6 separate regions of the Homo sapiens genome follow, and regions 2, 3, 4, 5 and 6 are each linked to region 1. Evidence: promoter capture Hi-C in 16 types of primary human blood cells and fetal thymus (Javierre and others, 2016). All regions are on one chromosome and are shown on one strand. The core of a region is centred on a gene start or on the middle of the fragment in contact, and the rest is flanking DNA. Distances in the headings are between cores, read along the strand shown. Region 1 holds the start of LIMS1 (LIM zinc finger domain containing 1). Region 2 overlaps RANBP2 (RAN binding protein 2). Region 3 has its middle 23 kb from the start of SULT1C4. Region 4 has its middle 2.7 kb from the start of RANBP2. Region 5 has its middle 7.9 kb from the start of SULT1C4. Region 6 overlaps LIMS1 (LIM zinc finger domain containing 1).

The links. The method cuts DNA at HindIII sites, captures the fragments that hold promoters and counts their contacts. A CHiCAGO score of 5 or more calls a contact.
Region 2: a contact is called between a fragment that was not itself captured here and the fragment with the promoter of LIMS1 in region 1, in 2 of 17 cell types (monocytes and total B cells). The highest score is 7.3, in monocytes.
Region 3: a contact is called between a fragment that was not itself captured here and the fragment with the promoter of LIMS1 in region 1, in 1 of 17 cell types (endothelial precursors). The highest score is 7.7, in endothelial precursors.
Region 4: a fragment that was not itself captured here is called in contact with the fragment with the promoter of LIMS1 in region 1 in 1 of 17 cell types (neutrophils); the score reaches 5.5 in neutrophils.
Region 5: a fragment that was not itself captured here is called in contact with the fragment with the promoter of LIMS1 in region 1 in 1 of 17 cell types (megakaryocytes); the score reaches 5.0 in megakaryocytes.
Region 6: a contact is called between a fragment that was not itself captured here and the fragment with the promoter of LIMS1 in region 1, in 1 of 17 cell types (neutrophils). The highest score is 7.1, in neutrophils.

Annotation. Positions count from the first base shown.
Region 1 is chr2:108,532,576-108,537,561 of GRCh38, forward strand. LIMS1 (LIM zinc finger domain containing 1) reads left to right here and starts at 1,895. Exons shown (of 10, transcript NM_001193483.3): 1 at 1,895-2,019. The coding sequence starts at 1,988. GCC2-AS1 (GCC2 antisense RNA 1) reads right to left here and starts at 1,644. Exons shown (of 3, transcript NR_135290.1): 1 at 1,254-1,644. RefSeq lists silencers at 758-1,052, 1,541-2,140. The HindIII fragment of the contact is 7,547 bases long and covers 1-3,150 here.
Region 2 is chr2:108,774,827-108,779,812 of GRCh38, forward strand. It overlaps RANBP2 (RAN binding protein 2), which reads left to right. Exons shown (of 29, transcript NM_006267.5): 24 at 906-1,110; 25 at 2,304-2,405. Among named protein-coding and RNA genes, the nearest start is that of CCDC138, 9.5 kb to the right of the region's middle. The HindIII fragment of the contact is 692 bases long and covers 1,556-2,247 here.
Region 3 is chr2:108,352,677-108,357,662 of GRCh38, forward strand. It overlaps the pseudogene SULT1C5P. Among named protein-coding and RNA genes, the nearest start is that of SULT1C4, 23 kb to the right of the region's middle. The HindIII fragment of the contact is 1,281 bases long and covers 611-1,891 here.
Region 4 is chr2:108,714,304-108,719,289 of GRCh38, forward strand. No RefSeq gene overlaps it. Among named protein-coding and RNA genes, the nearest start is that of RANBP2, 2.7 kb to the right of the region's middle. RefSeq lists an enhancer at 4,122-4,986. The HindIII fragment of the contact is 8,304 bases long and covers 1-4,986 here.
Region 5 is chr2:108,367,599-108,372,584 of GRCh38, forward strand. It overlaps the pseudogene GMCL1P2. Among named protein-coding and RNA genes, the nearest start is that of SULT1C4, 7.9 kb to the right of the region's middle. The HindIII fragment of the contact is 395 bases long and covers 2,228-2,622 here.
Region 6 is chr2:108,686,233-108,691,218 of GRCh38, forward strand. It overlaps LIMS1 (LIM zinc finger domain containing 1), which reads left to right. Exons shown (of 10, transcript NM_001193483.3): 10 at 1-1,014. Among named protein-coding and RNA genes, the nearest start is that of LIMS1-AS1, 10 kb to the left of the region's middle. The HindIII fragment of the contact is 7,259 bases long and covers 1-4,986 here.

The sequences.
Region 1 (4,986 bases), core at 645-3,144:
TGAGTTGAACATTTTTGTACTGATTTTTTTAATAATTAGAACTTTTTTAATAATTTAGAACTTTTTGTCATACATTTTACAAATATTTTTCTTGGTTGGGGTTTGTTATATTTATTTGCTATGCAGAAAATTTAGATTTCTATGTAGTTACATTTATCAATTTTTATTTATTTATTTAGAGACAGAGTCTTGCTCTGTCGCCCAGGCTGGACTGCAATGGCGCGATCTCGGCTCACTGCAACCTCTGTCTCCCAGGTTCAAGTAATTCTCCTGCCTCAGCCTCCCAAGTAGCTGGGATTACAGGAACCCCGCCACCACAACCGGTGAAATTTTTGTATTTTTATTAGAGACGGGGTTTCACCATGTTGGTCAGGCTGGTCTCAAACTCCTGACCTCAGGTGATCCACTCACCTCAGCCTCTCCAAGTGCTGGGATTACACGCGTGAGTCACCGTGCCCGGCCTACATTTATCAATTTTTAATTTTATGGTTTATATGCTCTTTGAAAAGTCTCTCACCACTCCAACCTTACTTTTGTTTTTTTCCCTTGTTTTCTTCTGGTATTTTCATAACCTCTCTCTTTTTTTTTTTTTTTTTTTTTGTTTTTTGAACATTTAACTATTTGCTTTGTTTGGAATTTACTTTCATGTGAGGACATCAAATAGATCCAGTGTTTTCCTCCGACATGCCTCGACTGGCAGGAGACCAAAGTTTTCATTCTATTACTAGAGAGTAGCTATAGTTACAGAATCAGGTATCCTGAGAGAGATCATTTATGCCCAGGATGAATAACTTGTCTTATCTATTAAATCTATTAAATCCTTTGGAGATTTCACTTTTTTTTTTTTTTTTTTTTGGGACGGAGCCTGTTACCTAGGCTGGAGTGCAGTGGCGCGATCTCCCAGCTCACCACAAGCTCCGCCTCCCAAGTTCAAGCGATTCTCCTGCCTCAGCCTCTCGAGTAGCTGGGATTACAGGCATGTGCCACCACCACGCCCGGCTAATTTTGTATTTTTAGTAGAGACGGGGTTTCTCCATGTTGGTCAGGCTGGTCTCGAACTCCTGACCTCAGGTGATCCGCCTGCCTCAGCCTCCCAAAGTGCTGGGATTACAGGCGTGAGCCACTGCGCCGGCCCCAAAATTTCAGGTTTTGATAGACGGAATGGGTGAAGAAAATGAGAGCTAGCAAGGAAGAACAGGATGCAGAGGCAAGACTGGAAACTCTCCAAGAAAGGTTAACTTTTCTTAACTCACAAGTTAAACAAAGGCTGCAGGCTCCATGCGGAGCTCAGGCACCCAGCGGTGACCGATCCAGACCAGGTCCTCCCGGAAGCCCGGCCTGCCCGACAGAGCCTTACCACAGAGCCCCCTCAGGCGTCCTCGCCAGGACGGGGCGGAACCCTGTGTAGCTCCCACCCCCGGGACGAAGGCCGCTGCCAGGGCCGCGCAGCCACGCGAGTGGAATCAGAGGAGCCTCGAGGCAAGGAGAGCCGGGCCCCGCTCCCTGCGCCCGTCACCGCCATCCTTGTTGTAGGGAACTCGGCCCCCGAGCCGCCGCCGCGCTCCGTGGGCTCCCAATGAGCCCCTACCCCAGCCACCCGCTGCGTTTGCGCCAGCCTCCCAGACTAGCCTGGGGTGCTGAAATGGGGGCGGGCCCGAGCCACGGGTTGGGGCGGGGTCTGATGCGCGCCCCGCCCCGCAACGCCCCGCCCCCCCGCGCCTACCTCTCCAGTCCGCGCCCTTCGGCGCCCGCCCCGCCAGTCCCCGCCCCTCCTTGCCCAGCCGCTCCCGCCCCTCCCCCGCCTTCCCGCGCGGCCCGCCTCGCCTTCCCCCCCCTCCCGCGCCCCCGCGCGGCCGGCCCCTGGCCTTCCTCCCCTTCCTGCTCCGGGCCCGCCAGTAGCCGGCCGCGGCGGCGAGGGACTAGGACGCGGCTGGAGCGGCGCCGGGAGACGAGGGGCTGAGAGACGGCGGCGGCCGAAAGCGGAGAGATGCTGGGCGTGGCGGCCGGGATGACCCACAGGTACGGGCCGCACCGCGCGGCCCCCGCCACGTCCGCCCCGCAGCTCCCGGCGGGCCTTCGGGCCGGGCCGGGCCGGGCCTGGCGCGGGCGGGCGGCCGGGCTTTCCCCGCGGCCTCCCCCGGTCGGCCGGAGCCCCGACCCCCAGCGCTCGGGTGGCGGCGTGGCTGCGTCCGGGCCCGCGGAGGAGACGGCTGCTGTTCACTCCCGGGTGTCCGCGGTGGCACAGGCGCTGACGCCGCCCCGCTGCTCCGAGAGTTCCATAAGACAAATCAGTATTTGCCGAGCTAATCATTTATCTTCTAGCAGTAGGGATCAGCGGGTCGCAGACGTCTTGGTCTCAGGACCCCTCTTGGGACTAGAGGACCTGGAATGGTGGCTATCTCCATAGACTGTACTAGAAAGGAAAACCGAGACACTGAAGTTACTATTAACTCATTGAATAAATCCGTGGTATGTTAACGTACATACCACATTTTTATGCAACATAGGGTTTTGCTAAAACAAAAGAGTTCGTGGGACGACTGGCGTCCTTTACAGTTTGCGAATCTCTTGAGTTGTCTGACTTAGTAGAGACAACTACGTTCTCCCATCTCCTTTGCAGTTCAGTCTGTTGCGGTATGTTTTTATATGAAGAAAATCTGATCTTACACAGATGTGTAGTTGGAAAAGTGAGTACTGTCTTAATAGCTGTTTCAGATAATTATGGGTATTCTTTATTACTACACCAAAACTACGTAAGTGGAAGTTTCTCAAAGGCTGGTTTGGACGTGGAATCTGAAGCTACTGTCAGCGGACTTTTCACACAGTTTCGTTAAAATTCCTTGGTCTGTCTTGCAGTTTGAATGCAGCTAAAGCTCCTGTCAGTGGCCTTTGCACACAGTTACGTTAAAATTCCTTGGTCTGTCTTGCAGTTTGAATGCAGCTGTTACCCATTGTAACACCATATATTTGTCGTTTGGAAGATATTGGCTCACTGAGTTTGGCAGATCTCAAGCTGACGCATTTCATTAATAGCGCCGAATAACATTCGTTACCATCGCTATTGATTTCATTAGGAAAGTCTTTATGTTAAAAGCCGTCAGATACAAGGTGGTGTTTACAAGTTTTCCAAAATTCTCATTTTCGGTTGAAAGCTTGCTTTTTATCATTGGGAGCAAAATATTGTCAATTGTTTTCCTCAAAGTGACAGACTCACTTTGTTCAGTTTCAAGGAAGTGTCCGGCAATACAGGTTTAAATAACCCTAGTTTGTCAGTTGTTCTTTCCCGTAAAAATGGTATTTCATGACACAAGCAAGTTAATTCAGCTCATCGCTCTATTACAGAAGTGCACGCCTGCCATTTGGTCACAAGTAACAAAAAAGAGTCAAAGCTCAAGATTTGATAACAATAATTTGTACTCCTTCATCATGGACTTTTTTCCTTAAAAAAAAGTATTGACTAGTAAGTTGATATAAAATTTAAAGTATTTGTGAGATATTAAGAATAACGGATATGTAGTGTAATAAAGGAGATAATAGTTTCCTTTTAAGACCTTCAAACCTCTCTGGTCCAGTGTCTCTCCGCATCCTATCCCCTTCCCATCCTGAATTTACCATTAGTAATTTACTTTTTGGAGGGAGAGTAATAAGTTCATTCAAATTATTGTGCATCCGTAACCATCATACATGTCCAGAAATCTTTATCTTACAAAACTGAAACTCTGTACCTATTAAACAATAATTCTCCATTCCCCTCCTCCCGCCAGTCCCTGGCAGCCATCATTTTAATTTCTGTCTATGACTTTGACTACTGCTGGTACCTCATATCTCATGTAAGTGGAATCATACGCTATTTGTTGTGCATGTCATAGTTTGTTCCTTTTTGTTGCTCAGTAGTGCTCCATGGTATGGATGTACAGCAGTTTAACTGTTCACATGTTTGAAGGACATTCAGGCTGTTAGTTTTGGGCTATTAAGAAAGCTACTACGAACAAATAGACAGGTGTTTGTTGTTGTTTTTGAGACAGTGTCTTGCTTAGTCACCCAGACTGGAGTGGAATGCAGTAGCATGATCATGACTTACTGCACCCTAGACCTCCCAGGCTGAAGCAATCCTTCCACCTCAGTCCCCCAAGTAGCTGGGACTACAGACACACGCCACCATGCCTGGATAATTTTTGTATTTTTTTGGTAGAAACAGGGTTTCGCCATGTTGTCCAGGCTAGTCTGGGGGTCCCAAACTCCTGGGTTCCAGCAGTCCACCCACCTCAGCCTCCCAAAGTGCTGGAATTTTAGAGCCACTGTGCTCAGCCTGTCTAAGTTTTATGTGAATGTAACTTTTCCTTTTCTGGGATAAATGTCCAAGAGTGTGCAATTGGCAGGTTGTACAGAAATCGTATGTTTAGTTTTTTGAGAAACTGACAGTTTTTTTCCAGCATGACTGTACCATTTCACTTAAAAAGTGAAATTGACATTATTTTCCTGTGAGTACATAAAGGTAAAGAATTCAGGGACAGTACCACGGCCCTCTTTAGTGCTAAGCGGCCAGCAGTTGTACCGACTGTTGTTTTTGCACTATCTGTGTGTCAACACAGTCCACAATGCTACAGTGACTTCTTAGGAATATCTTAGTATGATGAAAATAGTTTTGATCTCTCGGATCCCTTAGAAAGGTCTTGGAGACCCTCAGGAGTTCAAGGCCATACTTTAAGAACCACTGTTAAAGACATAATCCTAAATGATGAAGGATATGCAGGTATTGGGGATATTTAAAAAGGAACAAATACAAGGTTTCTCTTAAAATTGCTCTTGAATGCTTGTGGTAGTGTGTGCCTTGTAGTTTTGGCTAGTTTTAGTAGGATGTAATAACTAAGACTTGGACCACCATGGAAGAAGCAACTTTCTGCCTTTCAGGATTTTCCCTGATAAGAAAATGGCCAGTGCCATTATGAAGAGGGACAATGCCATGGGCCTAAGTGTATTCACACT
Region 2 (4,986 bases), core at 652-3,151, 240 kb after region 1:
ACCCGAGTATCTGCGATTATAGGCGTGGCTAATTTTTGTATTTTTAGTAGAGACGGGGTTTCACCATGTTGGTAAGGCTGGTCTTGAACTCCTGACTTCAAGTGTTCCTCCTGACTTGGCCTCCCAAAGTGCTGGGATTGCAGGCATGAGCCACTGGGCCCGGCCTAGTTTCTTAATTTAAAAAAAGCTTAAATTATGAATTTAAGATCATTCTTTATTTCTAGTATAAGTATTTAATTCTATAAGTTTCCTTCTAAGCACTTCCTAGCTGCAACTGGCAAGTTTTAATATGTGATATTTTCTCTTTCATGCAGTTTGAAATATTTTATTTTCCTTGAGACGTTCTTTTTGATCTGTACGTTAGATGCTACTGTGCCATTTCCAAATATTTGGTGATTTTCCTTCTGTATATCATTCTCTTATTGATTTCTAGTTTAATTCCTTTATGGTTTATGAAAATATTTTGAATAATTTCAGTTCTCTTAAATGTTGTGAGGTCTGTCTTGGTGAATGTCTTCTGTGCACTTGAGAAGAAAGTAGAGTCTCTTTTTTTGCTGACATTGTGCCATTGGCAGTTCCAGTTTTTTTGGGCTGCTGTAGCACCCAGGCTGGGTTACAGGAGTGGCAGAAAAACTCCGTGTGGATCTTAACCTCCAGATTATCTCTCTGGTCCCAAGATCCTTATTCTTCCTGTTTTTATCCACCTTTCTAAGGCTTCTTAGAGGTGCTCTGTATGTTTCAGTGTAGGCATTTAGTTATAGGTTTTGAGGAGAGATAGGGTGAAGTGTGTTTATTCTATCTTCTCCAGAAGCCCAAGTTCTCAATTCCCTTTGAAATAGATTATATAATCTGTTTTGTAAATTAGCATTTAAGTGGCATAGTATTTTGTGACTTCCTCTTTGCAGAAATCTCAGACAGAAGAAATAACTAGCACAACTGACAGTGTATATACAGGTGGGACTGAAGTGATGGTACCTTCTTTCTGTAAATCTGAAGAACCTGATTCTATTACCAAATCCATTAGTTCACCATCTGTTTCCTCTGAAACTATGGACAAACCTGTAGATTTGTCAACTAGAAAGGAAATTGATACAGATTCTACAAGCCAAGGTAAATCTTGATATATGTTTATCATGTGTTACATAAGGGACACCTTATATTTGAGAAGATAGACTTTTAAAGGCTGATCCTGAAAACTCCCTTTAAAACACATTTTGATATGTATAAAGGGGCATCTTAGTAGTAGTAGTAATAATAACCAGAAAAATTATACTGTGTTGCCAACAAATAAACATGTTTTTATTGATAGAGTTGTGGTTATTAGGGAATACAAAGCATTATGATTCTGACCTATTTTCCTGAGTTTAAAAGACAATAGTGTTGTTACATGTAATTTCCTTTGTGATAGTGTTTTCATTTAAATATTGTTTGAATTATATTATCACTCAAGCATATTCAAAGTGTTTTAATTATGAAGGAATTGTAGAAATATTACGGATTTAAGAAAGTTTTATGGTACTACTTAAATGTTTCTTATTTTCTCTAATACTTTTAAAGCTTGTTAAATTAATTATTCAGTTACAGTAACATATTTGGTATTGCTTTCTCTCTTTTTCATTTCGATTTTGGGGATGGAAGTGGGAAGTTTAAGTTGTATTGCTTTGTGTACCTTACCTACTTTTTAAAAATAGCCTTCAGTGTCACAAATATTACATTTATAGGCATTTGAGAGTCTTAATGTGCTAAAAGAGGAAGACGACTTCATACCTAAAACCTCATACATTTTCATATGAGGAAAATAAGGCATGGGGCTTTCAGAGATCATGCAGCTTCACATTAGCAGAATTAAGAGAAGACCGCAAAAGTCCTTATGACGAAGTGTAAATGAGACATTTGGTTTTTATGAGCTTATTTATAGTACAGAACACAAAAAGTTTTTATACAGATGTTTCCTAAAACCCTGCCTTTGACTGAATGCTTGCTTTAGAGTATAGTAGGCTCCATAGAGCAGAAACTGTAGTTTAATATCTGGCTTAATATAGATAGCTCTCCTTCTCATTTATAAAAAATAATTTTTGGCATGCATTTGGTGTAGTATTGTAGTATTCTTTGTGAATAGCACCTGTAAAATTAGTAATACTGAAGTAGCTCAGAATTGGATGTATTTTGTAACTTGACAGAATTTAAATAACTCCCCTCATCCCAGAGTATACAAGTCTCTACTGTTCTCTCTAGGTCCTGGGGTAAAGCTTTGATATTCAGCACAAATTAAATAGTAAATTGTTCTTTTTTTCTTTTGCCAGGGGAAAGCAAGATAGTTTCATTTGGATTTGGAAGTAGCACAGGGCTCTCATTTGCAGACTTGGCTTCCAGTAATTCTGGAGATTTTGCTTTTGGTTCTAAAGGTAAGATCAAGAGGAGAGACTTTTAATGACATTGTTACAGAATCAAGCACAACTGAAAAACTAGTTTTTTGTTGCAGTATATAACTAAGTTAGAAGTTTCTTCCCTTACCCCCCAGTTTGTTTTAGTGTTTTAATAATGAAGGGCTTCTACACTTTATTTTTTGACGTCAATATAATCTTAAGAATTTTCTCTTAATTTTATATAAGCCATGCTGATAGTCCTCCCCATTCTGAAATGCAGAACCATTTTTGAGCTTTGGAATGACTCTGACTTTGATCCTTACTCTTTTAACTATACTTTCATATGTGATTTGTTAATATTTCAGGTTTTGTGAGTTTATACTTTTTAAGGATATGATTTTGTAGTTTTCTTTTTTGTACTATCTTTGGATTTCAGTATTAGGGTTGTGCTAATTTATTGTGCTAAGTTTATAATTGGTGTGCTTGCCCATCTTCTTTAGTGGAGTTTCTATTTTTAATCCATTTTGGTAACATTTCTAGAAAAGAATCCATTTCCCTGATTGTATCCGGTTTACTAGTGTAAGGCCATCCATTATATTTTTTCATTCTTGTAATATCTTTCACATTGCTCTTTATAGCACCCCTTAAATAGTTCTAGTACAAGGTGTTTGATTTATGGAATACATTTTATTGAGGATATGTGCTTAAATGATTAATGCAGTTCAGAATTCTGTTCTTTCCTCCTCTATATTTGCACTTTTTTCACAGCTCCTGCCACCTAGAAACACATAAAACTTTTAGAAATTACCTTCAGATGTGATGTTATGTTGGAATTCATGGCTTCACTGATGTCGTTTATTTTTAATTTATGAAATAGCCTGAAATCAAAGGGTAATGTGTCAGTAAATAAGCAATATAGTAGGTACACTTACACAAAAAAAATCCCAAAAAAATAGATAGGCTCCTTGTTACTCAGTGTAGCCTCTTTGAAGTATTATGTCAATATTGGACACTAAAGTGAAAAGTAGGCAGTACTCACATATCGGGAGGAAACCATGCCTAAATAAGCCTTATGCATTAACATTCACTTCTCACTACCACTTGTCATTTTTATTCACCAAGCTCTTGTGTATTGAATGCTTACTTTAGTTAATTTAGATTGTGCTTGTTAAAAATAGTATTTGAAACTGTAAATGCCTTGCAGTCAGTTTTGTTTGTATCCACAGGTTTTCATAGGGAATCTTTATACTTTTGTAAATTTCCAGATAATTTAGAGTTTCAATCTTATTTTCTCTAATGTCTCAAAGCTTGCCAAATTAATTATTCACTTACAGTAACATTACTGTAGGCCCAGTTATGACCTGTGAGACCCAGATATTGATATATTACAAATACTTTTACAAGTGGGTGATTCTAATGTGTTCCCAGGGTAGAGAACCACTATTTTGAAATAATTTTGAATTCTTCTGCCACATGTCCCTTGGGGTTATTTTTTAAATTTTTGCTTTTGGCAAAAAAGTTGCTGAACAATTTTGTTTTTGTTTTTGTTTTTGAGACAGGATGTCACTCTGTTGCCCAGGCTGGAGTGCAGTGGCATGAACACAGCTCACTGCTGCCTTGACCTCCTGGGCTCTAAAGCAATCCTTCCACCTCAGCTTCCCAAGTAGCTGGGACCACAGGTGTGTACCACCATGCCTAGCTAATTTTTACATTTTTTGTAGAGACAGGGGTCTCACTATGTTACCCAGGCTGGTCTCAAACTCCTGGGCTCAAGCAGTCCTGCCACCTTGGCCTTGCACAGTGCTGGGATTGTAGGCATGAGCCACTGCACCTGGCCCTGAACAGTTATTTTTGAGCCCCCAAGTTGGTATCTCATCCAGATCAGTGGTTACTGTTCTCAGGAAGTTCCCATGCAACCTGTGGCTTTTGTTCTCAGATCATTCCTTTGCAATATGTCCTTAAGAATTTTTGTCTTTCTGTCTCTTTTTTTTGAGACGATCATTCTGTTGCCCAGGCTGGAGTGCAGTGGCGCAGATCTCAGTTTACTGCAACCTCTGCTTGCTAGGTTCAAGTGATCTCCTGCCTCAGCCTCCTGAGTAGCTGGGATTACAGGCATGCACTGCAACACCCCGCTAATTCTTTTAGTATTTTTAGTAGAGATGGGGTTTCGCCATGTTGGCCAGGCTTGTCTCGAACTCCTGACCTCAAGTGACCAGCCCGCCTCGGCCTCCTAAAGTGCTGGGATTACAGGCATGAGCCACCACACCCGGCCCTCTCTCCTCTTTAAAAACATTTTTTTTTCCCCTCCATTAAATCTGTCTGAAAGAGAGTTGATTTTTTATTGTGTTCTTTAAGGTACTGAGTTATGTATCCTGTGACATTTTTTCTTTTTCATGAGAGTTTTTAGCAGAAGGTGTAGGGTTCTTTAAGACAGTGATTCAGCAAGTGATAAAAAGTTGAGAGGTGTTTCTTTCCTCTAAGATAGTGGGGACTTGGTCATCTAAATTGAGGTATGGGATGGAGAAGTTTCTAGTTTTCACCTTCTTGCAGGTATGCGAGAGTGAGACCATCATTGTTCCCCCATACAGAAGTAGGATGCTTAACAATCTAATACCCTTTG
Region 3 (4,986 bases), core at 1-2,500, 180 kb before region 1:
ATGGGTGTAATGAGTTACTGCCACGTCAGAGAAATTGGTTGCTCCTGTTGATATGGTTTGACTGTGTCCCCACCCAAATCTCATCTTGAATTGTACTTCCCATAATCCCCACATGTTGTGGGACGCACCCGGTGGCAGGTAATGGAATCATGGGTGGTTGCCTCCATGCTGTTCTCATCATAGTGAGTTCTCATGGGATCTGATGGTTTTCTAAGGGGCTTTTCCCCTTTTTCTCAGCACTTCCTTTTGCTGCCATCATGTGAAGAAGGATATGTTTGCTTCCCTTTCCACCATGATTGTAAATTTGCTGAGGCCTCCCCAGCCATGCGGAACTGTGAGTCAGTTAAACCTCTTTTCTTTATAAATCACCCAGTCTCAGGTATGTCCTTATAGGAGCCTGAGAACAGACTAATACACCTGTCAATGCCAAAATGATATATTTTGGTGGATTTAAAATTAGCAAAGCCAGCCTGCCCAACCACAAACACCTCCATCTCAGGCACATGGTACTGCTTTAAATAAATATCAGTAGGACATGAAAGGTTGGGTCTGAAAAGTCATCACCTACCTAACTTCCTCAGATTCCTACCTTTTTTTATATTAATCTTGAAGCTTGCTCTCCCTATCTAATTTTGTATAGATTTAGGAATGTTAAAGTGTGTGGATAGGCTGATGCTATAGGTTGCTTCTAGGGGAGGAATCTGCCAAGAGATACTGACCCCTGACCCTAGTCATAGACTGTTCTCACTTCACGGTAAGTCAATAAAATGATAGCTTTCCTGTTTGAGGGATGCCCAAATTCTTTGCAAAATCTAATTACAAGTCTGAATAGGCAGTAAAATTTGTTCTTGCTATTTATATAATTGTAAACTTTAACTCAGAAATGGACATTATAAGCTGTTCTCAGAGTATCCAAAGATCAGGTTGGCACCAACAGGTCCCGAGTAAGTCAGGTTTTCTTCACCCCTCCCTGTGTCCCTCTGGGGACCGAGCACGTCCAGGGAGCAAGGAGCAGACCAGTCAGCAAAATGTAAAACCTGTCTTAACCTGGAAGGTGGGGCTGTCTTATCCACATTTGGCTCCACCTCTGAGCTAACTTCTGATTAAAGCTGATCTAAGGAAAGGACTGTGGTCTTCTGTGTGTTGGGAGTCCCCTGGTCATGGCAGCCTACCCACACTGTGGCATCTTTAGATCTATACAAAGTCAGATGGGGGGACTTTGAAGATCTATACAAAGTCAGATGGGGGGGCTTTGAGATCAATCGGAGGCTTCTATGGCCATGGATGCTGTGAGGCAGGTGAAAAAGAGATTAAGGACACTAGCCTAAGATAATACTTCTAATAACGAGAACTAAAAATATTAATAGTATTAATAATGAGTATTAAAAGTATTAATACTTTTAATAATGAGTATTACAGGTTCACAGCTGACTCTGTAGACCTAGTGCCAGATACTGGAGAGGAAAGGAGGAATCAGACACAGCCCCTACCCTCGAGGTGCTTCTGTGGGGAGACACAGAATGAACTATAAGTCTCGTTCTTGCTTTTATTTTCTCTCTGATCACTGGGCATTGAAATGGTTAGGCAACATGCAGAATTCTAATTTTACGTAACCCAATGTGAGTACTAAAATCTTTTGACACCAAGTCCTGTGTTACTAAGGATTGTCTTAAAACAGAACTTTGGAATTGCAACACACATTCTCACATATAACTGTTTTGTTTTGAAAACATCAGGAAGGGGGAGCATGTGGCAATTTGCTGGTCTCTCCTTACAGAGAAATGAATATGAGTCTTCTCACCACGTTTTGGGTCTGTTTCTTAATGCACAATTTCATGATTTCGATAAATAAGCATATGCCTTAGGAGCTGAGGAGAGTATAAAGGTGAGAAGCTTCTAGATTCTGCCCTTAAGGAGCTCAAACTCTGGACCCAGAAATAGCAAACTAATACTGCTTGGAGTAACATCATGGCTGTGGGAGCCAGGCTAAACTCCACCTAGGGAAAATGCCTTGGTCTCAAAGACAAAATTCCACCTAGCTCTCCACTTAGAGCAGAGGTTTCCAACTAGTGGCTTTTAGGTTGAATATGGCTTGCAGATGTGCTGTTTTTAAAAAATTTTGAATTAGTTGTCAACATGTAAAAGTCAGGAGATGTTCCATAAACTCCCAATTTCTGGCACCAATGGCACCCAGAGCTCCATGGCCTCCTGCTATAAATGGGGCTGGCACTCACCAGATGCCAACAAGTTCACTCCACCTGCTTACTGCCCTGCCCCTGCAGGCATTGGGGTTGCGACTCTAACAAACTATGTGGCTCAGAGTTCGTGATTGAAATGCATAAATCCTATCTAGAAGGACACAGACTTTAACAGGACCCATGCAGGAAAGGGGATCCAAAGCCTTGGAGCCAGGGAATTGTGCCAGCCAGTGGAGGCACACTACTGAATAATAATCTTCAGATTAATAAAATCACCCGTTTCCATGTACTTTATTTTATTTTATTTCAGATTTTTGTTTCCCTTTAATAAAGTTAGTTTTGAAAAACTTTCTCAACTTAAGTTAGAGAAAGGCAAATTTGGTATGATGATAGCCATTAAGGAGAAAATGCAGAGATAAAGGAGTGATCAAACTTCGTCAGGAGAAAGTGCTGAAGTGCAGTTGCTCTGCTGACCCATCCTCACACACAAACCACAGGCTCTTCTTAGAGGTCTTTTCTTTTTTTTTTTTTGAGATGGAGTCTCGCTCTGTCACCAGGCTGGACTGCAGTGGCTCAATCTCGGCTCACTGCAACCTGCGCCTCCCGGGTTCAAGTGATTCTCCTGCCTCAGCCTCCTGAGTAGCTGGAACTACAGGCTCCCGCCACCAGGACCGGCTAATTTTTTGTATTTTTAGTAGAGACGGGGTTTCACCATGTTAGCCAGGATGGTCTCGATCCCCTGACCTCGTGATGCGCCCGCCTCAGCCTCCCAAAGTGCTGGGATTACAGGCGTGAGCCACCGCACCTGGCCAACAATGTTTTATGGTTTCATTTCTTAATATTTATTCTTTTCAATGCTATAATAAATGGAATTATTTTCTCAATTGAATTTTTGGATTGTTCATTATTAGTGTAAAGAAATATGAATTTTTGTATATTGATCATGTAATCTGCAACTTTGCTAAATTTATTTATTAGCTCTAATAGTTCTGAAGGGATTCATTAGGGTTTTCTGTATACAGTCGTGCCTTGCATAATGATGGGGAAATGTCTGAGAAATGTGTCATTAGACAATTTTGTCACTGAGTGAACATCATAGAGTGTACTTACATAAACCTGGATGGTATATCCTTCTCCATTACATAGCTCCATTATAATCTTATGGAACCACTCTCATATATGCAGTCCATTGTTGACCAAAATGTCATATGGCTCATGACGATATAAGATCATGTCATATGCAAATAGAGATAGTTATACTTCCTCCCTTCCAATCTGGATATCTTTTTCTTATGCAAGTTTTGTGACTAGGGCCTCAAGTGCAATGTTGATTAGAAATAGTGAGAGCAGACATCCTTGCCTCATTCCAGATTTTAAAAGCAAATATCTCTCTTTCACCATAAGTATAATGTTACCTGTGGGACTTTCATAAGTGCCCTTTATAAGAATCAACAAGTTCCCTTCTATTCCTACATGGGTGAGTGTTTTTATCATGGAAATATGTTGGATTTTGTAATGTGACTAACAGATCTGCATTCATTTCCTATGGCTGCAAAACCCTCAACAAATTAACACAAACTTGGTGGCTGAAAACAATACATATTTACTCTTTTACAGAGGCCAGACATGTAAAATCAGTTTCACTGGGCCGAGATCAAGGTTGCAACAGGGCTGGGCTCCCTCCAGAGGCCCTAGGAGACAATTTGTACCTTGCCTCTTCTAGCTTGTGGTAGCTACTGGCATACCTTGTCTTGTAGCCACATCACTCTAATCTGCCTCCATGGTCACACTGCCTTCTTATTTTCTGTGGACAAATCTCTGTCTCCCTCTTATAAGGATACATGTGATTGCACTTAGTGACCACCCAGAATCCAGGAAAATCTTCTCAAGATCCTTAATTTAATCACATCTTCAAACTCCTTTTTGGCACACAAGGTAGTATTTTCAGGTTCCAGAGATTAGAACATGGAAATCTTTAAGAAGACCATTATTCAGTCTAGAACATCTTCTATTACTAATTTGTTTTATTTTGTTCATGAAAAGATGTTGGATTTTGTCAATTGCTTTTTCTACATTGATTAAGAAAATTACGTGTTTTCAAATTATTAATAATTCTGTTAATATTGTACATTACATTGATTTTGATATGTTGAATCAATCCTGCATTCCTGGAATAAATCCCACTTCATCATGGTGTATAATCATTTCTCTGTGCTGCTGGATTCAGTTTATTTTTTTTTTTTTTGAGGATTTTGCATTTATATTAATAAGGAATATTGGTCTATAGTTTTCTTTGCACGTTATGTATTTCTCTGGCTTTGGTATTAGGGTAATGTTGGCCTTATAGAATGAAGTAGAAAGTGTTCTCTCTCTTTCTAATTTTTGGAAGAGTTTGAGAAGAATTGGTGTTTATTCTGTGAATATTTGGTAGAATTCTCTATTGAAGCCATCTGAACATGAGTTTTTTTCTTTGTTGGAAGTTGTGTCATGACTGACTTCTTTGCTTATTATAGATTTATTTAGATTTTCTATTTCTTCATTAGTCAGTTTCAGGAGGATGTGTGTTTCTAGCAATTTGACCATTTAATCTAGGTTATTTAACTTGGCACAAAATTTTTCATAGTTTTGGTTATTTGAGTCTTCCCTCTTTCTTTCTTGGTCAGTCTCACTAAAGACCTGTCAATTTTGTTGATATTTTCAAATAACCAAATTTTGGGGTCATTGATTCTATTGTTTTTCTATGTTCTATTTCATTTATCTCCACACTAATCTTTAATATTTTCTCCCT
Region 4 (4,986 bases), core at 2,351-4,850, 180 kb after region 1:
ACACACCTGTAATCCCAGCTACTAGGGAGGCTAAGGCAGGAGAATCATTTGAACCTGGGAGACGGAGTGTTCCCCAACCAAACTGAGGGTCGGGCTGCTATTTCTCATGGCCCAATAACAAGATGCAGATGAACTCGGGAGGAAGAGAGTTTTTATTTCTGCAACCAGTTACAGCAAGAAGGCCTGGAAATTATCGCCAGACCAACTCAAAATTACAAAGTTTTCCAGAGCTTATCTACCTTCTAAGTTATATGTCTACGTGTAAGTGTGCATTCATCTAAAGACGTAAGTGATTAACTTCTTTTAATATATAACTAAGGTCTGAGTCCTGAAGACCTCCCTCTGGAGCCTCAGTAAATTTACTTAATCTAATTGGTCTAGATGTTGGGGTGATTTTTTTTTTTTTGAGACGGAGTCTCACTCTGTCCCCCAGGCTGGGGTTCAATGGCGCAATCTCAGCTCACTGCAAGCTCCCCCTCGGTGCCGGGGTGATTACCCTTATCTTGCCTCCCGCTAAGTCACAGAGGTTTGGGGAGTTCTTTCAGACCCCCAATAAACTTGTCTGTGGAGACCTGGGGAGTTTCTTCAGACCCGCAATAAAACTGGTTTAATCCTAAATGGGTCCTGTTGAGAACTCCTTCGTTATGGGCTGGGTGCGGTGGCTCATGCCTGTAATCCAAACACTTTGGGAAGCTAAGGTGGGTGGATCACGAGGTCAAGAGATCGAGACCAGCCTGGCCAACATGGTGAAAGCCCATCTCTACTAAAAATACAAAAATTAGCCGGGCGTGGTCATGCATGCCTGTAATCCCAGCTACTCAGGAGGCTGAGGCAGGAGAATCACTTGAACCTGGGAGGCAGAGGTTGCAGCGAGCCAAGATCCTGCTGCTACACTCTAGCCTGGGTGACAGAGGAAGACTCCATCTCAAAAAAAAAAAAAAATTCCTTCATTATTGTGTCATGCTTTAAGGCCCAGGACAGGCCTAGGCAAAAGTTTTGATGGCCTTTTGTTACATCCCAGCCTTTGTATAAGGGCACTGGCTTTTAGTATTTAACTTCATTCAGTAATTACTGAAACAGTTGTTATGAAAGTCTGCATTAGTGAGACCTGGCCTGCCACAGGAGGTTGCAGTGAGCTGAGATCTTGCCACTGTACTCCAGCCTGGGTGGCAGTGTGAGACTCTGTCTCAAAAAAGAAAAATGATGCAGAAAGATTTGTTTGACACAGGGTGGGCATAAACTTTCAATTTGTAAAAAACATAGTATCTGTGAAGTACAATAAAATGTAGTGCGATAAAATGAGGTATGCTTGGACAGCAAAACATCATGTTGTACCTAGTAAATGTATACAATTTTTATTTGTGAATTATACCTCAATAAAGCTGGACAAATGAACTGTATTTGCAACATGGTAGGGAATATATGACATTGGACACTAATGCAAATGGAATTTTCAGTGCCTTGGTGAAAATGTTATACCACTGAACAAAAAAAAAATGTAGTGTAAAATGAAGTAAAATGTGAAAATCCCTAATAAATGCAGAAATATGAACTGCTTATCCAAAAGAGAAAAGTCTTTTGAGTTCCTCAAGAAGATTCTCTCTTTGGATGCTGGGCGCGGTGGATGCCGGGCACCTGTATCCGAGCACTTTGGGAGGCCGAGGCAGATGGATCACTGGAGGCCAGGAGTTCAAGACCAGCCTGTCCAACACGGTGAAACCCCGTCTCTACTAAAAATACAACAATAACCCGGGTGTGATGGCATGTACCTGTAATCCCAGCTACTCAGGAGGCTGAGGCACAAGAATTGCTTGAACCTGGGAGGCAGAGGTTGCAGTGAGCCGAGATTGTGCCACTGCAGTCCAACCTGGACCACAGAGTGAAACTCCGTCTCAAAAAAAAAAAAAAAAGAAAGAAGGAAAAAGAAGGTTCTCTCTTTGGGCACTCCTTTTCGATATATTCAACATAAATGGATTAATGATACCATTTTTACTAGGTGAGTATGTTTGGGCAAGTTGCTTCAGTGCTCATTCTCTTGGTTTCCTTTTTTTTTTTTTTTTTTTGGAGACAGGGTCTTTCTCTGTCACCTAAGCTGGAGTGCAGTGGAGTGAACATAGCTCACTGCAGCCTCCAACACCTAGCCTCAAGAGATCCTCCTGCTTCAGTCTCCCAAATAGCTGGGACTACTGGCAGGCACCACCATGCCTGGCTAGTTTTTAATTTCTTTTTTTTTGTAAGCACAGGGTGTTGCTATGTTGCCCAGGCAGGTCTTGAACTACTGGGCTCAAGTGATCCTCCCACCTCAGCCTCCCAAAGTTTTGGATTACAGGCATGAGCCATGGTGCCTGGCTGTCTTTTGCTTTCCTTATCTGTAAAAACTGAGGATAATAACAGTACCCTTACAAAGTTGGTGGAAGAATGATATTAATACAAATGAAGTGCTAACAGAAAGAGCTTTGGAACACAGCAAGTACTTGTTAGCTATGGCTATTGTTATCAACACACTTTTCAAGGCAAACTTGTGGTTTCACCTATCACCTGAGATATATGACTTTTAAGTCCATCAGATCTTCTCTTTTGGTTTTTATTTTTAAATTAATTAAATATTATTATTATTATTATTTTGAGACAGAGTCTGCTCTGTTGCCCAGGCTAGAGTGCACTGGCACGATCTCAGCTCACTGCAACCTCCACCTCCCAGGTTCAAGCAATTCAGGTGCCTCAGCCATCCAAAGAAGCTGGGATTACAGGCATGCACCACCATACCCAGTTAATTTTTGCATTTTTAGTAGAGATAGGGTTTCAACACGTTGGCCAGGCTGGCCTTGAACTCCTGGCCTCAAGCAATCAGCCCATCTGGGCCTCCCAGTGTGCTGGGATTACAGGCGTGAGCCATCGTGCCTGGCCCTCTTTTCGTTTTAGAGATAGGAATCTCATTCTCTTCCACAGGCTGGAGTGCAAAGGCATGAACATAACTCATTGCAGTCTCCAATCCTGGGCTAAAGGGATGTTTCCCCCTCTGCCTTTGGAGTAGCTGGGCCTCAGAACTGTGCCGCAACTACTGACTTCCATCAAGATCTCTGTCCTACCATTTCATCTTCCTACTAGGCTATCCCCACATGGATATATAAATGGTACCTCAAGTGAAAGAAATCAACTACCTAAAATAGGATTTTCCACTCCAAACTAGATTTTCTTTACATGTCATTTCTGTTAATGTGGGTCACACACACTGGTAAGCTCAGAATCATCTTTTTCTTTTCTTTTATTCACATCCAATATTGTTGAAATAAAACAAAATGCTGTTTTTCCTTTTTTAGAAAGGCAATACTTGTTCATTATATCAAAATTTAGAAAATATGGAAAAACAAAAAGGATAAAAAATTATCCACAACCAAAATAGCCCAAATTTCCAGTTAAAAATGTCAACGCATTTGATATTTGTCCACATAATTCAGACTGTAATGTTTACACAAATGTGAGCTTTTAAAATCTAAAAGGTTCTCACTATTAAAAATGTTTTGTTAAATTTTGTTTTAAAAGTAAGATTTTAATATCCAAATTCCCAAAATAGACATTTTTGAAGATTTGGAAAATACAGACGGCTCAAAATCTTTACATTATTACTGTTAAATTTTGGTATGTTCTGTTATTCTGCTAGTGAAATATATATAGATTTGGGGGGGCTATTCCTTTTCCTTTTTTTTTTTTTTTTTGAGACAAGGGTCTCACTCTGGTGCCCAGGATGGAATGCAGTGGCGCTATCACAGTTCATTGTAACCTGGAACTCCTGGACTCGAGGGATCCTCCCGCCTCGACCTCCCAAAGTGCTGGGGCTACCAGCTTAAGCCACTGTGCCAGGCGAATGGCTATTCCTATATACACAGTTGACCCTTGAATAACATGGGTTTGAACTGCCTGGGCCCGCTTATAAGCCGACAGAAAATACAGTATTGGAGGGGCCTGCATATAGAGAGGTCTGACTTTTCCTCTAAGTGTTCCACCCGCAGGACTGACTGCGGGATTTGAGAATGCGCGGACTTCTTCTTCTTCTTTTTTTTTTTAGGAAGTCTTACTCTCGCCCAGGCTTGAGTGCAGTGGCGCGATCTCAGCTCACTGTAACCCTCGCCTCTCAGTTTCAAGCGATTCTCGTGCCTCAGCCTCCCGAGTAGCTGGGATTATAGGGGCCCACCTCCACGCCCAGGTAATTTTTTGTATTTTTAGTAGAGATGGGCTTTCGCCATGTTGGCCAGGCTGGTTTCGAACTCCTGACCTCAGGTGATCCGCCCGCCTCGGCCTCCCAAAGTGCTGGGATTACAGGCGTGAACCACAGCGCCCGGCGGAATGCGTGGATTTTGGCATAAGACGGTGGTTCTGGAACCAATCCCCCGCCGAGATGACTGTTTAAAAAATTGTAATTGTCCAAAACTTAATATTTGTGGTCTTTTTCATTATGCAGTTCTAAATCTCCCTTTTTTTTTTTTTTTAAATTCAGACGGAGTCTCCCTCTGTCGCCCAGACGGCGCAATCTCGGCTCACTGCAACCTCCGCCTCCCGGGTTCAAGCGATTCTCCTGCCTTAGCCTCCGGAGTAGCTGGGACTACAGGCGTCCGACACCACGGCCGGCTAATTTTTTGTATTTTTGGTAGAGATGGGGTTTCCCTGTGCTAGCCAGGATGGTCTCGATTTCCTGACCTCATGATCCGCCCGCCGTGGCCTCTCAAAGTGCTGGGATTACAGGCGTGAGCCACCACGCCTGGCCCTCATTTAATAAGATATGAATTTAAAAATGTATGCTTTAGTATTCACACATGTCCGATGCAACGTATTTAACCAGTCATCTCCAGAAACTTTGTTCCAATTTACACGTTCACCAAATTGGCCTGAGTGCTTTTTTTCTTCCAATGCATTGCGCACTTATAATTTAGAACAAGTGACCAAAACGCTTAAGAGCCCATCACGCAAATTGTTATCTGCTGGAAATCT
Region 5 (4,986 bases), core at 1,175-3,674, 160 kb before region 1:
CAAATAAAGAACACCTTGAAAAGAAAGTATGAGTTGTAAAAAGCATGCCAAGGCTGGGGAGCTCAGCTGGTAGACAACAGAGTTTAACTTCAGCCTTGACTTCTTGCCATGTATCAAGTGCAGCGTTAGTTTCAAGTACAACACATAGAATCATCATGTAGCAGAGTACATCTGGAATTCTTCCAGAGCAGTGAGAAGTTTATTTGCACTGGAACTAGTAAATATCATATCTTCACCCTTAAAAATAATCAGGAATAAAGCGTGATGAAAATGAATGGGAAACTTCTCATTTTTCTCTTATGTATCTGCTGTAATTTTCTATAAATAACATTCCAAAAGAAAAAATACAATGAATGTCAGAAATGCATAAGCATTGTCAGGAAGCATATGAAAATAGCATATGTCAGGAAGCAAAACAGGATCTCAGTCACTATAGTAGCTGCTGTATTATTTTTGGCATGTCTTTCTATATGGATGTGGAATTTAAACAAAGAAAGAACTAGAACATAGGCAAATATCACAGTGTAAATGGTATATTGTGGTACACCTTTTTTTGTTTTTTTGAGACAAAGTCTTGCTCTGTTGCCCAGGCTGGAGTGCAGTGTCACACTCTCAGCTCACTGCAACCTCCGCCTCCTGGGTTCAAGCAATTCTCCTGTCTCAGCCTCCTGAGCAGCTGGGATTACAGGCATGCGCCACCATGACCAGCTAATTTTTGTATTTTTAGTAGAGACGGGTTTTACCATGTTGGTCAGGCTGGTCTCGAACTCCTGACCTCAGGTGATCCACCCGCCTCAGCATACCAAAGTGCTGGGATTACAGGTACAAGCCACTGCGAATGGCCAGCTGGTACAAATTTAAAGCATTGCCTCTCCCCAGGACGTTGATCTGGCACACCAGTTCCAACAGGCCGGCACAGATCCTTTGATCACCTGAGTGATCACATTAATATTCTACCTTTTTGACCTAACATGTGGCATCCATTGCCCCAAAACTAGATTAGAGCTTGACTCTTTTTGAAGCAATCTGAAATCAATTGTTTTAAAACTTTCCCAACATACAGGAAAACTAAATATCCATTCCTATTCCTAGGAAAAACCTACAGCACACTTCCCATTATTTTTTTGTCATGTCCTTCTTAGTGTAACAATTAGAATTGAATACTCCACAAATTCTGAATTTACAAAGTGCCTTCCCTAAACCATATATGCCTCTTATTTTGAGTTGATACCATATTTACCAAGTAATTTAAGGGGAGAGCACCAAAAATTCTTTGCATTGTGGTAATTCGATGTCATTGGGTAAGATCATATACTTAATATTATTATTTACCATTTATTACATGAGGTTCAATTATTTGTTCACATTGCTGCCTCCCACCGCTCTGTCATAATCTTCACAAGGGCAACCACTATGACTTATTTTTTTCTGCTTCCTCATTACCTTAGAATATACTTGATACATAGTAAACAATATGGTTAGGTATAAATGAAGGAATGAGTTACATTCTACGTTCATACCTTTCTATCCTGTTGCCCTCAAAACAGACAAAGCATACTAAATATAATGCCATTTCATATATATCTTTTTCCATCTTACAGTCTCTTGCCCTATTCCAGCTAGTTTATGAGATAAGAAATGTCAATGATGATATTATATCTTTTTGCCATAATCACAGGATGAATAATATACTTCCTGATCTAGGACCATGAACACTCTGAAGCATCCTTTCCCAGCAATAGCAAGCGATGCACAGTAGGTGATGCTCTCCAGATGTCTTCCATTTTGAAGCAAGTGAAAAGCACAGTAGCATTCACTCTGTACCTGCCGTACATACATCAGGTACACAGGAAGTGTTGATGAGTGAATGATGGAAAGGTGAGTCTGCAGGCAACAGCAGTAGTCTTTCTAGGGAACAGGACAGGGGCTTTGGTATAAATACATTTCACAAACAAAGCTCCAGCTGAAAGTCCTGTGCAAAGGATGTGATGGGAAGTTCTTTTGTTTCTATCCGTAATGAAAAACTGTCTTGAACATCACCTGGCACATTAGTAAGAAGGTGGCAGTAGATGACAACAGAAGCTTAATTCTCCCCAAGTTTAAAATGAATCCATGATTATTTATTAAAATGTAAAACCACCTCTAACTGCACCCAGAGATGTTCTATTTGTAAATTTCCTTTCAGCATCTTACGTATTTTTTACATAAGTGAGATCACACCCCATGAAGCTTACATCTTGCTTTTTTCTTTTAATATAACAACCAATTCCCAATTACCTGGCTCATAAATTCTTCAATAACAAGAGAAGCTGGAAGCTCCTAGGGCAATATTGAGTATGTCTGAAACAAACATGGTCAATTCTATCTCTTCTTCATATTACTTTCCCTCTGGATTAAATGTTCAGGGAGAAGGTGTAGATTTTAAAATTAGACTTCAGAACATCGGTGTCGCTGGAAATTTTGTCTGAACTAAAGAATCAGACAGTGGCTCCAGCCAGAGCTCTCTGCACTTCCAATACCTCTGAAGATGGTGGGGAAGAGCAGAGAAAGAAGGAGTTCTATTTATTTAAAAATGATTTTACTTTGAAGACCAGTTTGTAAAATAAATATTGGTGTAGCATAAGCTTGAGATGAGTCACCTGGGGCCTATAAATATTGATATAGCATAAGCTTGAGATGAGTCACCTGGGGCGTTACATTTAGTATGCTTTGTCTGTTTTGAGGGCAACAGGGTAGAAAGGTATGAATGTAACTCACTCCTTCATTTATACTTAGCCATATTGTCTACTATGTATCAAGTACATGCTAAGGTAATGAGGAAGCAGAAAGAAATAAATCATAGTGGTTGCCCTTGTGAAGATTATGACAGAGTGGTGCGAGGCAGCAATGTGAACAAATAACTGAACCTCATGTAATACATAATAAATAACAATATTAAGTATATGATCTTACCCAATGACACTATCCCTGTCCATTCCCTGCCCTGTTCCTCCTCCCATCCCAATGCACAGTAACCTCTGGAAGACAATACCTGGAGGCCTAGGGCTCTCAATAAAATGGCTATAAAAACTGTTATAGGTGGACTCCATGATATTATAACATATTGTTATTCTGTCAGCTTTTAGCATACATGTCATTTGTGAGCATCCTTAGTCATCACAGAGGTCAAATCAAGAAGTAAGAATCTTTGTGAAAGGCAGCTGTTGATACTTAGGGCAGTGGCCAAATTTCCTGCATTCAAATACCGGTAATGTCACTGATGGGGTGTATTACCTTGGACAAGTTACTCAACCTCTCTGTTCTTCTGTTGTATCTTATATAAAATGGGAAGAATATTAGTATCCACTTCAAGTAGATGTTGTGGACAGTAAATGAATTATTACATGTAAAGAGTTTAGGAAGACACCTGCAACATTGCAACCCCTCCTCAAAGAGATACAATTAACACAGAGGTAGGAATCCGAACACCAGACTCTTCTGATCTCTCATTCATTTGTCCAGAACAAAATTACAGAACTTTCCTAGCTCATGTTTCCTGATATATTATAGTGACCTCATAATAATTCATCTCTCACTAAGATGTTAGAAGAAAATCAACTTTGAGACACTTTGAATCTCCAAAAGTTTCCCATTATATTTAAATTATAAACTGTTCTAATTTTTAAATAACTTTCATATTATAAAATAATATATACTTATTGAAGATTCCAGATGTATATTAAGTCATATGTCATCCCATCTTCTAGAGATAACTTTAACATTTCAGCATACATTCATCAAGCTTTTCTACACTTTTTTTGTTTTTGTTTTGTTTTGTTTTGTTTTGTTGTTGTTTTTTAGACACAGTCTCGCTCTGTCACCCAGGCTGGAGTGCAGTGGCGCGATCTCAGCTCACTGCAAGCTCCACCTCCTGGGTTCATGCCATTCTCCTGCCTCAGCCTCCCCCCGAGTAGCTGGAACTACAGGTGCTCACCACCATGCCCAGCTAATTTCTTTTTGTATTTTTAGTAGTGGGGGTGGTTCACCATGTTAGCCAAGATGGTCTCGATCTCCTGACCTCATGATCCACCCATTTCGGCCTCCCAAAGTGCTGGGATTACAGGCGTGAGCCACCATGCCTGGCCACTACACATGTATTTTTATGGTGAAGTATTTTTTGTTGCTACGTTTTAAGTACCATTGCAGGCTGGAAAAAGTCACTTTGTAGTGGTTCAGAATGAGCAATTAAATGACTATGAAAAGGTCTGACTGGTATTGTACTTTCTGCAGGGCTCTGAAAAGTAAAGCTAGATGTCAAGACAAGTGATAAAGACTACCTCATCACTCACATTGACCAGTTACAATGTAGCCAAAGAACATTTTGTTTTCAGTGCAATTAATAACCCATGTGGTTCCTTGTAACACTTTTTAAAATAATAACCTAAAGTAAAAGAAATATGCATTAATTTTCTCTCTAATGGCCTTTCTAAACCTCTGTGAGGCCCTAATTTGATCATGGCACAGTACTTCCTGATCCTGGACACATACCCAGGACCATTTCCCTGTAATTCCTAATCCAGAATCCACTACTGAGAAATCCCAAATGTCATCTTTCAATGGTATGATTTACTAATGAGATGTAAAAGTTAAGGATAATACAAGTTTTTCATACAGCTAGGTACATTCAATTTTCTTTTTACTCTGAGATTATGCTCTCACACTTGATGTTAAAATGTCCTTCTTAATGAAATGGAAGTGTGATTGTAAATTTTTTTGGAAATATCCTTACTTGGAAAAATAAACATCAGGCCCCATGTTTTTTACATTAATTTATGAAATACATAAGTCAGTGAGCCTCCCCTTAAAAGATATCTTCTTTTAGTAGTGCTTTTACATTTTAGAAATTTCTTTTTTTTTTTGAGACAGTCTTTCTCTGTCACCCAGCCTGGAGTGCAGTGGCACAATCTTGGTTTACTGCAAACTCCACCTCCCGGGGTCAAGCAATTC
Region 6 (4,986 bases), core at 923-3,422, 150 kb after region 1:
GGTGGGAACCCGGGAGGCAGAGCTTGCAGTGAGCCAAGATCACGCCACTGCACTCCAGCCTGGGCAACAGAGCAAGACTCTGTCTCAAAAAAAATAAATAAATAAATTATGAATGAGTATTTTCTAGAAATTCAACTTGCTAAGCCTGTAATACTTAAGGGTAGTTTATCTAGATACAGTACTTTCTTCCCTGATAAGTAGTATCATTGGAGCCCTTAGGTATAGGAGAAGAGGAAGAAGTTTAAAAAGTGTAAGTGGGCCGGGCGTGGTGGCTCATGCCTGTAATCCCAGCACTTTGGGAGGCCGAGGGGGGCGGATCACGAGGTCAGGAGATCCAGACTATCCTGGCTAACAAGGTGAAACCCCGTCTCTACTAAAAATACAAAAAAAAACATTAGCCAGGCGTGGTGGCGGGCGCTTGTAGTCCCAGCTACTCGGGAGGCTGAGGTAGGAGAATGGCTTGAACCCAGGAGGCGGAGCTTGCAGTGAGCCGAGATTGCACCACTGCACTCCAGCCTGGGCGACAGAGCAAGACTCCGTCTCAAAAAAAAAAAAAAAGTGTAAGTGGATTAAAAGAGAAACTTGGTCTAGTTCATAATATTTTTAATAGGGCTTTCCCTGGCTGCTGGAAAACTTAGGCCAGTAAGCATCTCTTTGTTTAAAGTCCTACAAGACAATTTGAAATAATTCATTGTTCATGCCAAAATTCTAAGTACTGTTTTTCTTAGCAAGTGTAACATAATCAGGAACAATGGGTACAAGTAAAACATTCTTTGGATGATATTCAAAGCCTTATTAGCACTGCACCTGAATAATAGGTCATTTTGCCTCACTCATTTGCCAAAGTAGCCATTTCTAAGTTAAGGAAGTTTTTAGATAGGCTCATAGCCTTGTATTTCGTTTTAGATTGTAAGCTCAATGGCAGGGATACTATATTGGTAATTATGTTTTCATATAGCAACCACCACAGTATATTCTTGGTGCTTAATAAATGTTTATAATTGTTAACAATAACCTGTTGTATATTGTTTATTTTGAATGGTATATATGTGAAATACATATGAAAATTGAAGTATTCATGAATATATAATAGAAACAAGTAAATGAATAAAATGACCTGGTTACTATAGATAAGCCAAATTTTGAACCATCTAGAACAATGGTGTAGTCTTCCCTCTACTCAATGTAAATGCTGGGTTTTTTAATTATTATTATTATTAAGAAGGAGATACAGTCCAGGCACAGTGGCTCACACCTGTAATCCCAGCACTTTGGGAGGCCGAGGCCAGTGGATCACTTGAGGTCAGGAGTTTGAGACCAGCCTGGCCAACACAGTGAAACCTCATCTCTATTAAAAATACAAAAATTAATAGGGCGTGGTGGTGTGCACCTGTAGTCCCAGCTACTTGGGAGGCTGAGGCAGTAGAATCACTTGAATCCAGGGGGCAGAGGTTGCAGTGCAATGGTGTGCTGGGATTACAGGCAATGAGCCACTGTGCCCTGCCCTCAGCTGGAGTGCAATGGTGCAATTAAGTTCTTTCTTTTTCAACTCAAAATTTGTCTGCATCTTTACCCAAATATCCAGATCTGATACTCTAGGCTTGGGCTAATATAGTGGGGTGGAGGAGGCTTGGGTTAAGGTTTAAAGTTCCAAGGGCTGAACCGGAATAAATGGTGTATTTATCAAGGGAAGAGCAAGGCAAAACCAGCAAGTCCAAACCATGGAGGCCTCAACCGAGGTGAGGGGAAAAGTTAGGGAGCCTTAGGAAAGCTCTGAGGAGGGACCCCAATTAGGGGGACCGTAGTTAGGGTATGAGGTTTGTGAGATCAGGACTGGAATTGCTGCAAGAGACCCTATGATTGGGTGGCAGCAGCACGTTGTGGAGATGAGCCTGCTTCCTCAGCCTCTTCCTCTTGTCAGAACCCTTTGCCTCTCCCTACACACGCACACACACATGCATGCACCATGCTACAGAAACCTTTCTCAGTCTTGCCATTCTCTCAAATTATGCTTTGGTCTTCCCTTCATCTTCAGATTCTTTAAAGAGAATCAAAGTTCCCACTTCTAGCATGATGAAGTGAGGAGGTCAACAAATCTTTCCAAAATGTAACTGTATAGCTGGACAAACCATTTAGCATTCTGTAATTTTACCAAAGGCACCGCACAAATGGGGATGTGTTTAAGAATGAAAGCTGGCCAGGCGCGGTGGCTCACGCCTGTAATCCCAGCACTTTGGGAGGCTGAAGCAGAAGGACCACTTGAGCTCAGGAGTTCAAAAACAGCCTGGGCAACTTGGTGAGACCCCCGTCTGTACAAAAAAAAAATCAAAAAAGGCATGGTGGTGCACACTTGTGGTCCCAGCTACATGGGAGGCTAAGGCGGGAGAATCATTTGAGCCCAGGAGATTGAGGCTGCAGTGAGCTGTGATCACACCACTGCACTCCAACCTGGGCAACAGAGTGAGACAGACCCTGTCCCTAAAGAAAAAAAAGAAGAATTAAAGTGAGCCTTGGATAAGACCAGCCTGTGTCTGTGGCATCTTTGCCCAGGCTGCTACCCCCATTTACCCCAGCTGTTGATAACACACACAGCGGCCCCCAGCAGGGCAGCCTGTGGAGATAAGCTCCCCTGCCACCTCGTTGCAGGGGCTGGAGGCAAGAGTGAGGAAGGTTTTGATTTGCAGCATGGCTAGTTAAGGTGGTGATATCAGTGACCAGGAGGAAGAAAGGCCACTGACTCCTAGCCTGAGGCTCTGGGCCTTTGGAGACGAGCAAATGACCTGCAGATTAGTCATGGATGTAAGAGGGAGCTCCGGGAGGTCGGAGAGCCAGAGGGAGCTTAGTAAACTCTTCACACTACCCAAATGGACTGAAGGCTCATAGCTGGCAGAGATTAGAGCAAGCCCAAGCCATGTCCATATGCCCAGGGCACACAGCCTGTGTGTGTGCCGGTGCCAGTGTTAGGAAGTAAAAGCCGGAACACCCTTGCAAATGGCCCGGGGCGTGCCTCCTCCCCATTGCACATAGATCCAGCAGCAGATGGTGGAAACCATATTGGCTTTAACTGATGTTTGACAAACTATGCAAACAAGAAGCGACCTCTAAGAAGCCATTCTGAAAAATTAAAGCAAACAAATGCCAACAATAAAACTGAACAATGACCTGAGTGAGTGCACACTGTGGAGGAGACAGGCTTCCTGCATGGAGTCCAGCCAGGAGACAGTACAGAATGCATGGAGCAGCTATTGGAAGACAGTGAAAACTAAATAGTTGCAGGCAGCTTTCCCAAGAAGACCAGAACTTGAAGTACCACCAAACCAGTGGTGAGATAACCATGTTTCCCCTACGGCATCCCGTGACTAACCTGGCAGTGGGCACCAGGGTGCAGATAGAAAGAGCTCCAGAAGATGCCCTCTATTTCTGGCTCAAGTAACGGGAAAAGGGTCTCCTAACATTCCGAGGGAATCCAGAAGTTCGTTCCTCCCCATTTTTCTTTTCCCTGTTCTCTCATACCTCAGCCCACAAGCAGTCCCACAGTGGCACTGGCACCAGCCCCAAGAGGAGCCCAGGAGCCAAGATGTAGGAGGGAACCTTCTCCAACTGACAGAGCTGTGGTCCCAAGAGGGCAGAAACAATCCATGTTGCTTCTCTTCCAATTCAGTCCTCCCACTTCTTGGCTTCAGATGTAGAAATGCATGGTAGAGCCAGATACCGAAAGCCTGTTTTCTGCTTGGAAGACTAAAAAGAGAAGCCTCAGCAAATGAAAGCAACAGGGTAATTGCTGAGAGAGAGTTAATCAGTGAAGCAACCCCATTAACCTGTCTATAAACCCCAGGGCTCATTCTTGAGCTGCTCCTGCATAGATCTCGTCCTGTTCAACACACCAAAGATTGACAGCTGAACTGAGAGACCATCACCCACAGACACAACTGGCCACTGGGTGGTGCACAAGTCAGACAGAACTGAATAGTCCTGTGAAGACTTTGGACACTGAACTGACTTTGGAACCAGACTGCAGAATGGAGGGGTGGGAACTTGTGGCTTGAACCTAATCAGGTAGATTGCCTGGCCAAAATGAAAATACCTATCATCTCCATAGGATTTAATTTCATTCAATGATTTTTTTTTTAGTAAATTTGCAATGTTTTACAGCCATCCCCAAAATCTAATTCCAAAATATCTCTATCACCCCAACAAGAGACTCCATTCAGGTTGGCAGTCACATGCACTCCCAGATTTCCCCTCTGCCCAGCCCTTGGCAATCACTAGTCTACTTTCTGTGTCTTTGAGTTTGCCTACTCTGGATATTTCATATAAATGAAATGATATATGAGGTTTTGTGATTGGCACCTTTCATTTAGAATAATGTTTTCAAGGCTGATTCATGTTGTAGTATGCATTGGTACTTCATTATTTTTTATGCAAAAGTAATATTCTATTGTATGGCTATACCACATTTTTCTTTGAGACAGAGATCTCACTATGTCGCCCAGGCTGGAGTTTAGTGGCTCTTCACAGGCCTGATCACAGCTCCTGCATGGATCAAGGAGCATCACTGCAGCTTCAAACTGCAGCTTCAAACTCTCGGGCTCAAGCGACCCTCCTGCCTCAACCTCCCCAGTAGCTGGGACTACAGGCACGTGTGTCTGTGCCAAGTAATACCACATTTTAAAAATCCATCTTCAGTAGATGGAAATTTGGATGTTTCCACCTTTTACTAATAAAAATAGTACTGCTATAAACATTATGTATAGGTTTTCTTTTGTTTTTGTTTTTTCTTTTTTTGTAGAGATGGGGGTCTCGCTGTGTTGCACAGGCTGGTCTCAAATACCTGGACTCAAGTGATCCTCCCATCGAAAACTCCCAAAGTGCTGGGATTACAGGCGTGAGCCACCATGCCTGGCCTGTATACAAGTTTTTGTGTAGACATGTTTACATCCAATTAATGAACACAGGATGTCTTTCCATTGATTTAGCTCCTCTTTA